2 separate regions of the Homo sapiens genome follow, and region 2 is linked to region 1. The links are contacts of gene promoters, found by promoter capture Hi-C in human tissues and cell types (Jung and others, 2019). All regions are on one chromosome and are shown on one strand. Each heading gives the region's core, a stretch centred on a gene start or on the middle of the fragment in contact. The rest is flanking DNA. Distances are from core to core; before and after follow the strand shown. Region 1 holds the start of GNG12 (G protein subunit gamma 12). Region 2 has its middle 10 kb from the start of GADD45A.

Region 1 (4,173 bases), core at 947-3,446:
GAAATATAAATAAAAAATAGGAATTACAGTTGTATGAAAATGGAATGTGAATCCTTTAAGTTTGGGAAACATCAGCAGAGTAGAAAGGACACTGGATCAAGGGCATCGATAAAAGCACAAAGTATTGGGTCAGCCAGCCAAGGTTTGAATCCTGGCTCTGCCAGTTTTGCTCTGTAAGACCTAACCTTCCTGTGACTACGTCCTTAGGTTGTTAGGAGGATTAAAAGGTTTAATATATGTAAAGCACTTAAAGCAACATCTGCTACGCAGAAAGTGCTGGTTAAGTATTAGCTCTTATCATTCCTGCCTTGCTATTAGGTTGATGCAAAAGTAATTGCGGTAATAACTTCTGTACTAACCTAATACTATCTCGATCAGTGCTTCTCAAACTATCTGTGATATTTTATTTTCAATCTGTTGCAGGCTGATGCCTTTCCACATAAAAGAAAAATGAAATAGACATAAAATACAAAGCTGCATTTTAAACGATTTAACAGACATAAAATTACTCTGTCAAATTGCTGTAAGTTTCTACATGCTCATCTTCAATTTCTATGCTCATCCCTTTGTAGATGGGTAACGGTTTGCAGACTGTCACTATTCCATGAACCACACTTTGAACAGCACTCAACTAGAAAAACCTTCGACAAGCCGCTTAAGTTACTGGTGGCAATATGTGGTGTTCCAGCTTCCAGGTTTTTTCAAGAGACTAATGAGAGAAAAGTAAGAGTAAGTACATGAAAGCACTTATTAAACTATAAAGTGTCCCAGGAAGGAAAATTAGTAGCATAGCTTAGAGGAGTCTATTCTGTGGTCTGTGGCCAAAAAATACAAACTCCAGTATGCCACCCTCTCAGTCCCTGTGGTGTCAAGCTGTTCTGTTTCAGGTGTATCATTTGAACTGTTAGTACTTGTGAATCAGTCAAGCATTTCCTAATGCTGAACAGAACAGGAAATAAAGACCCCTCTGGCAGTCTGTGGCTTGCATCCCACAAACCACCGCCATCCGCAGCTTGCTAAGACCACACTCCTGGGGCAAGGCATGCATTCATACACCTACTCTACCTGTGACACCTCTTCTACATGTGCAAATGATTTCACTAAACCTGAAACTTGCTTAGGGGTCAGAAGGAAAGCAAGAGGGAATATAATGCCCTGACTGCAGTCCCTAGTTCCCAGATTCCCCAGGGCCCACTTGTCCTCAGTTGGTGAAACTCAATACACAGACATCCCTCACCAATGCTTTCAGACTCCATTTCAAGTGTGGACTCTGCCCACACTGGTTCTAAGTGACCTACTTTGGCCTCACCTCTTTTCTCTCCACCCTGTCAAACAAGAAAGCGGCTACCTAGGAATACTCTAGAAGTCCGCTGAGTGGTTTTCTGAACATCCAGCTTCTTTACTCTTTCTGGACTCCAAGAAGGCAAGCCCCTTGTCTGATTCATCTTTGTACCTCTCCCATCACCTTTAGCATCGCAGTTGGTACACAGCGGGTGCTTGGTAATGTCTGTCGAATGGCCAAAGGAATAGTACAAAATCTGTGGAAGCGGAAATGGCTCCTCCATTTACCCGACCTTGAACCCTTCCAGAAAAGACCAACCAAATCCCATTAATTCATTAGGCAGAACTCTGCCAGGTACTGGACATTCGGAAACAAATTTCAGGGGGTCGGGGCAGATGGACGGGAAGCTCATGGTGGGTGGATGTACTACAAATTCTATAATCCGCAGTTATACCTCCACTTTCTGGGAAACTTCTCTCCGTGGCCCCAGGGCCCTTTAAATGTTACTATGCGTGTTTTCCTCCATAGTTTCTGGAACAGAACCAAACTTTCGTGTAGGGGTTTGGCAGCGCTCATCCTCACAGCCCTGGGGACCGCTGGCACAGGGGCAAGCGAGGCGTTCGCACGCGAAGGAAACTTGCGAGGAGTCAGGGCGGCCCCGCGCGGGGGCGGGTCGTAGAGTGGGGGCCCTCAAGTCCTAGAACTTCAGGTCCTCCATGAGAATTAGAGGAAGGGGGATGGCCAAAGACGACCAGACGTCCACCGAGCTTCCACAGGCCAGGCCTCGCCCCTCCTCCTGCGGGGCCACAACGCGGGCTCCCCGGCCCGGGACAGCACAGCCAGGGCGTCCGGGCGGGAGGCAGGGCCCGGCGCGGAGGAAGGAGCCCGGGGCCGCCGCCGCCCCGCCCACCCCAGCGAGGCGGAGCCGGCGCCCGGAGGAGCAAGAGGAGGAGGAGGAGGAGAGGTCGGAGCCGTCTCCAGGAGCCCTTAGAGACCGAGTCCCGGCGGCGACGGCGGGGCAGCGCACCGGCAGGCGGGTGAGTACCAAGCGGCGGGCGCGGGTGGTGAGTCGGGTCCCCGCGGGGTCGGGGCGCGGCGCGGGGCGTCGGCCAGCGAGTTCGGGGGCCGCCTCCGAGTCCCGGGTGCTGGGAAGCGAGATGGAGGGAGGGAGCGGAGGAAGGAAGGAAGGAGGGAAGAGTGTCCTGCTGGAGGGCGGGGACTGGTCTGGGCGCTGGGCGCCGGAGACCGGGGGGAGGGGGAGGAAGGGGCCAAGGGACACCGAGACCCAGAGGCAGAAACGGCGCGCGCGCCCTCGACGGGCGGCCGCCCGAGGTTGCGGGAAGCCGCCCCCACGGCTGTGGCTGGGGCTAGGGCTGGGGGTGGAAGGAAAGGTCTCCCCTTGAGCTCGCTTGCCTCCTCGCCAGCCTGCGGCCGTGCGCCCCGCGCCGGGTTGGGAGGCCCCCAGTGTTCCCAGCCGTGGCTTGTGGTGGTGTCAGGCGTTGGAGGAGGGCTGGCATGTGGGGGCGACAGGGACGCCACGCCCCTCTGCCTACTTTCTACCTCCCGGGACCAGCCGGCGGGAGCGCAGCCTTGGAATCCGCTGGGCGCTGGGGGTCTAGCAGGGAAATAGCGGGTCGCAGAGGGGAGAGCCCATATGACGCACCCCGCGAGGGACCCCCGAGTGGGGACCCGAGGCTGCTTTTCTGCAGACTGTATTTGCAAGTGGTAAGGGGGAGGTTGAGGCTTAGTCTTGGGTGATTTTTTTTTTTTTAATTATTGCCCCGACAGTTATCCCGTGGGGCAGGGTGAATTCTGTTTTTCATTTTAATTAGGGCATATCAATTAAAGCTAACTTTAAAACGCTGTCACTTAGCACCTCCCGTCACTCACTCGTCCCTCGCTTTGTGTGTCCTGTAAACTTGGCTTAAATCATTCATAACTCACGATAAGGAAGCCGTGATTCTTGTTCACGTCGCCGCAGTGGAGTGAAACTTTGCCCAACTGGGACTGAGTGGAGGCATTGCTGCGGCCGGTCATCTGGTGGTCATCCTGCCGGGCGTGGTTGTATACAAACAAGTGGGTCGAGAAGGAAATCTCTGAACACCAGAGGTAGAAGGGAGGTTCCTGCGCCCACGTGTCAGGGCGCGTTTAATGGCTGCTCCCAGCGGAAACAAACGGGAATTTATTAGACCGTGTGGAGTTGGACAAACTTCACATGATTAGCTTCCTTCCCATCAGTTACTTCCTCTCCCCCCTGCTGTCTTTGCCGACACAGTTTATATTTCCTGGGGCGGTTGTAGCTTCGCCTGAATAGGCTGTGTATAATGAATCTTTTGGATGTCGTCAGAGGCAGGGTCTGCGTCTGTGCCTTCTCTATTTTAAAAGCGGAGTTTGGCTTTGTTTTTAAAAGTGCTAGTCACCAGACTGCACCCTTGCCAGCGCTTCGCAGCTCTCGAAGTAAATTATCGCAGGATGGCGGCCCTCACCTAGGAGAACCAGGAAGGCAGGCAGCGCTAGAACGACGGGATTGAATTTTACTATTGCCAAAACAATCACATTCAAGTAAGGAGCTGTTTTGTTTTGTTTTTGTTTTTTTAACCAAATTATATATACTAGCAAGCCCCTTTTCTAGTAAACTAACGTTATTCACACACACAATTTTTAAAGTAATCAAAAATTTTACAGAGTCTTAAGTGATAAAAGGACTTTCAGATAAAATGTTCAGTCCCTTTGCCTTCTCTAATAGTTAACCAGCGCCGTAAAGCCCTGGTTTAAGTCCAAAAAATGCTGAAAAGTCTACTGCGTCGTTAGACCTTATAAATAATGCAGTCCTATTTTTGCTGTATTTAACTCATGTAATTTACTAGATATCGAACCCCCAACAGGGCACA
Region 2 (4,173 bases), core at 932-3,431, 140 kb after region 1:
TTGCTCTGTTGCCCAGCCTGGAGTGCAGTGGTAAGATCTGGGCTCACTGCAACCTCCGCATCCTAGGTTCAAGAGATTCTTCTCCCTCAGCCCCCCAAGTAGCTAGGATTACAGGCATGCACCACCATGCCCAGCTAATTTTTGTATTTTTTGTAGAGACAGGGTTTCACCATGTTGGCCAGGCTGGTCTCGAATTCCTGACCTCAGGTGATCCACCCGCCTTGGTCTCCCAAAGTGCTGGGATTACAGGCATGAGCCACCGCACCTGGCCTGCATCTGTTAATTCATTTAATTCTCACAACAAATCCAGGAAACAGCTACTCCTATTATTCCTACTTTACATATGAGGAAATAGAAGCCTGGAGAGATCCAAAAGTATATTGGATATGCTTTCAGAAAACCATTTTTCAGGGTAGCCAGTGTGACGTAAGAGAAAGAATACGTATCTTGGAATCAGGAAATGCATGTTCTGGACTGATTACTACTCATTTACTGTGCAACCTTAGGACACTTATGATCTCTGATTCTACTTCCCCATTCACTTTTAAAAAAAAGATTTAGGCTAGGTAATTTTTAACATTTCCTCTAGCTTTAAATTGTATATAAATCTGTAAATCTGAGAGGAGATCAACCCTCTTGCCATCTCCACCCCAAGTCATTGTACATTTTCCTCCTTGAATTGAAAATCAGGAGAAGAACCAAAGTCTAGCGTATGGAGCCAGAGGAGGGCACGTGGGTTTGTTGTGTATAATTATAGGTATTTAAAAGATATTTAAAGAATCACCTCCTGATACTTCAGCTACTGGCTCATCAACAGGTCTATAAAGAATTTTAAGGAAAAATGAATTATAGAAAAGCATTTTGAATATTGACAGCCTACCACTAATAGAATTAAGGAGCAAAGTTCTTTAACAAACTTAAAGTGTCAGTAGCACCTTATGAGTTCATAAAACATAACTACAAAAAGAAAAATAGCCCACTCAAACATTAAATATGAATGACAGTGCGTTTGGTTTATAGAAACAGAACAAAGAGAAATTTATTTATTTGTTGAGCTCCTACTAGCACTGTGGTAGGTATGTCCTAGGATAAACCCAGAAAACACAAGGATAGTGGGAGTGGGAGTAACAGGTGCAGGGGCAGTAGGAAATAAACAGATAAATTGCTATGCAATATGGTAAATGCTATCATAAGAAATTGTTCTGTCTGAATGAGTCAGAAAAGATTTCATAGAAGAGATAATATATTAGTTGAACTTTGAAGAACAAGTAGGAGTTTGTTGGTAAAGAATAGGGAAAGGATATTCTCAGCAGTGAAAAATAGTGTATGCAAAAGCCCCAAGATCTAAGGAAGCCTGGAGTGTTAGAGCAACAGAGATCTTTGCAACGGAAGTATGGGAATGAGAATGTGGACAAGGCTGGGAAGGAAAGTTGGGTCAAATAATCAAAGGCCAAGAGTTTGTACTGAATTATATGGGGGGAAGGGTAGTTGTTCAGAGATTTTTTTTTTTTTTTTTTGAGACGGAGTCTCACTCTGTCGCCCAGGCTGGAGTGCAGTAGCGGGATCTCGGCTCACTGCAAGCTCCGCCTCCCGGGTTCACGCCATTCTCCTGCCTCAGCCTCCCGAGTAGCTGGGACTACAGGCGCCCGCCACCACACCGGGCTAATTTTTTGTATTTTTAGTAGAGACGGGGTTTCACCGTGTTAGCCGGGATGGTCTCGATCTCCTGACCTCGTGATCCGCCCGCCTCGGCCTCCCAAAGTGCTGGGATTACAGGCATGAACCACCGTGCCCAGCCGGTAAGAGATTTTTAAGCATGGTCTTGACATGAAGATAATTAGAATGAACAAGGAAAATAAACTACTGAAGAAAAACTGGAGGTCGTGTTTCTAATTTCTGTGGGGAGTAGGGAGTGGAGGGTGGTATTCACTATTCTTTTATTAGTTCTTCAACTCCTTTCCATTCCAAACCCTTATCACTCTCCTCCAACCCCACCCCCTATTTACATCCTCTGTGATCTGTTTCTGTCTACCTCCTCAGCCTGCCTTTCTCCACTCCCTTCCTTAAATACTTAATCCCCTAACAAACACCACAGAGCCCCACACATGCCACACCCCTCACCCCAATGAGCTCCTAAATGCTCTTCAAGAGTCACATCAAGCATCACCTTCTCCTGGAAGGTTTCCTGACCACCCCCTACACACACACACACACACACACACACACACACACACACAGACACACACACACACATTGTGCATACCCATGCTTGCCGTGACACCACTCTGGCTTGAAAATTATGTGTGTCTGTCAGCTTCCTATAGTTCCTATAGCAAACTGCATGTAGCAACTGTGTCACAATCATCTTTATGGAGCAAGCTCTAGCACAGTACTTGATACACGGTACTTATGTTCTCACAACCTTGATTTTGAACAGAAACTGTTCTGATAGCCTAAATGACAGATAAAGAACTAAATTAAGTTAATGGAAATGGAGAGGGGAAACTAGATTAGTGAAAATTAACATAATTTAATTGGATGGTGTCTTGCTGAATTCAGTTATGTTGGGCTATGTAGTTTACTGGGTGGTTTTTTTTTTTTACTTATATAACTAATTTGCAAACAGAACAATTAAATATTAATGGAATATAAACAGGCATAGAAAATCACCAGTTCATGGAAGATGCAATTATTATTAGCTTACATATATTGACTGCTTCTAGGAACTGAGCTAGGTTCTTTCTATGCATTGTTTCCTTTCCTTTTCACCATAACCCGATGATATAAGCCTTGTTTATTTCCCCAGTTTTACAGGAGAAATAACTGAGGCTTCGAGAGTTACACTAACTTTCCCAAGTTCCAGCTAGGATCCAGGATTCAAGCTCAAGTCTTTCTGCCTCTAAAACCCAATGTCTTTTTTCTTCATTTTTGTTATTCTTTTCTTTCTTACAAAAATAGGGTCTTGCTATGTTGCCCAAGCTGATCTCAAACTCCTAGCCTCAAACAAGCCTCCCAGCTAGGCCTCCCAAAGTGCTGGTATTACAGGCTGGTATTAAGACAATGGCCTGGAGTGGCGGCCACTGTCTTAACTGCTGTACTCTTGTTCTTATCTTTTGCTAGCCCTGTCCTTCACAGTTATATAAAGAAGCAAAATCAAATCAGAAGACCTCCAGATGACCCATTTCTTGCTGAGTGCTTATTTCAATGATGGTAAGATGATTACAATATGGTGATATAATCATGTGTTAAGTGATGATACTAAGAAAGTTTGCTGCTTTTCTGTATAAATTCTTTCTCAGACAATTCTAGAAAAGATATTAGCATAAAAGCATGCAGGGACACAAAGATCAACTTTTCAATGATGCTTAGAACTTTCCCAGTTCTAAGATGAAAGAAGACAATTCTTAGAATTCTCCCTTGAGTGTTTTTTGTCTCCTTTAGATTTCCCAAGGCTCTGCCCCACTTATTGGATAAGTAAAAGATTCGATTCAATTAGTTTCATCCTTCCCCAGTCTAATCTCTGCTGTCTGGTTGGCCTCTTTGAGAGACTGACCTAGCATCAAGAGGACTGAATTCACCGTAAAATTCTGATTCTTCCACTTCCTTGTCATGGGACCTTGGAGGTGTCTCTTGATTGCTCTGAGCCTCAGTTGCTTTAGCAGAGAATCAAATGAATTAATGAATGTGAAAATCCATGAAAGGCAGAAAGTACTAGTGGTTGTAAGAAAAATGGAAGTGGCCAGCCACGGTGGCTCACGCCTGTAATCCCAGCACTTTGGGAGGCCGAGGCAGGAGGATCACCAGGTCAGGAGTTCAAGACCAGCCTGGCCAACATGATGAAACCCTGTCTCTACCAAAATATAAAACATTAGCCGGGTGTGGTGGCATGCACCTGTAATCTCAGCTACTCGGGAGGCTGAGGCAGGAGAATTGCTTGAACCTGGGAGGCAGAGGTTGCAGTGAGCCAAAATTGTGCCACTGCACTCCAGCCTGGGCAACACAGTGAGACTCGGTCTCAAAAAACAAACAAACAAACAAACAAAGAAAAAAGAAAAAATGAAAACTGGAAGCCCCACTTACTTCTCAGCACCTACTGTGTGCCTGACACTGAGCAGTACTCATAGTATAACAATAACAGATTTTAATCATGCTTGTCAGCTTCTCCCTCGTCTT

What was found. The method cuts DNA at HindIII sites, captures the fragments that hold promoters and counts their contacts. A contact is called where the count stands out against the background at its distance.
Region 2: a contact is called between a fragment that was not itself captured here and the fragment with the promoter of GNG12 in region 1, in 1 of the 25 tissues and cell types used here (aorta).

Annotation. Positions count from the first base shown.
Region 1 is chr1:67,831,490-67,835,662 of GRCh38, reverse strand. It overlaps GNG12 (G protein subunit gamma 12), which reads left to right and starts at 2,196. Exons shown (of 4, transcript NM_018841.6): 1 at 2,196-2,319. It overlaps GNG12-AS1 (GNG12, DIRAS3 and WLS antisense RNA 1), which reads right to left and starts at 3,375. Exons shown (of 10, transcript NR_040077.1): 1 at 3,227-3,375. The HindIII fragment of the contact is 19,373 bases long and covers 1-4,173 here.
Region 2 is chr1:67,693,187-67,697,359 of GRCh38, reverse strand. No RefSeq gene overlaps it. Among named protein-coding and RNA genes, the nearest start is that of GADD45A, 10 kb to the right of the region's middle. The HindIII fragment of the contact is 9,732 bases long and covers 1-4,173 here.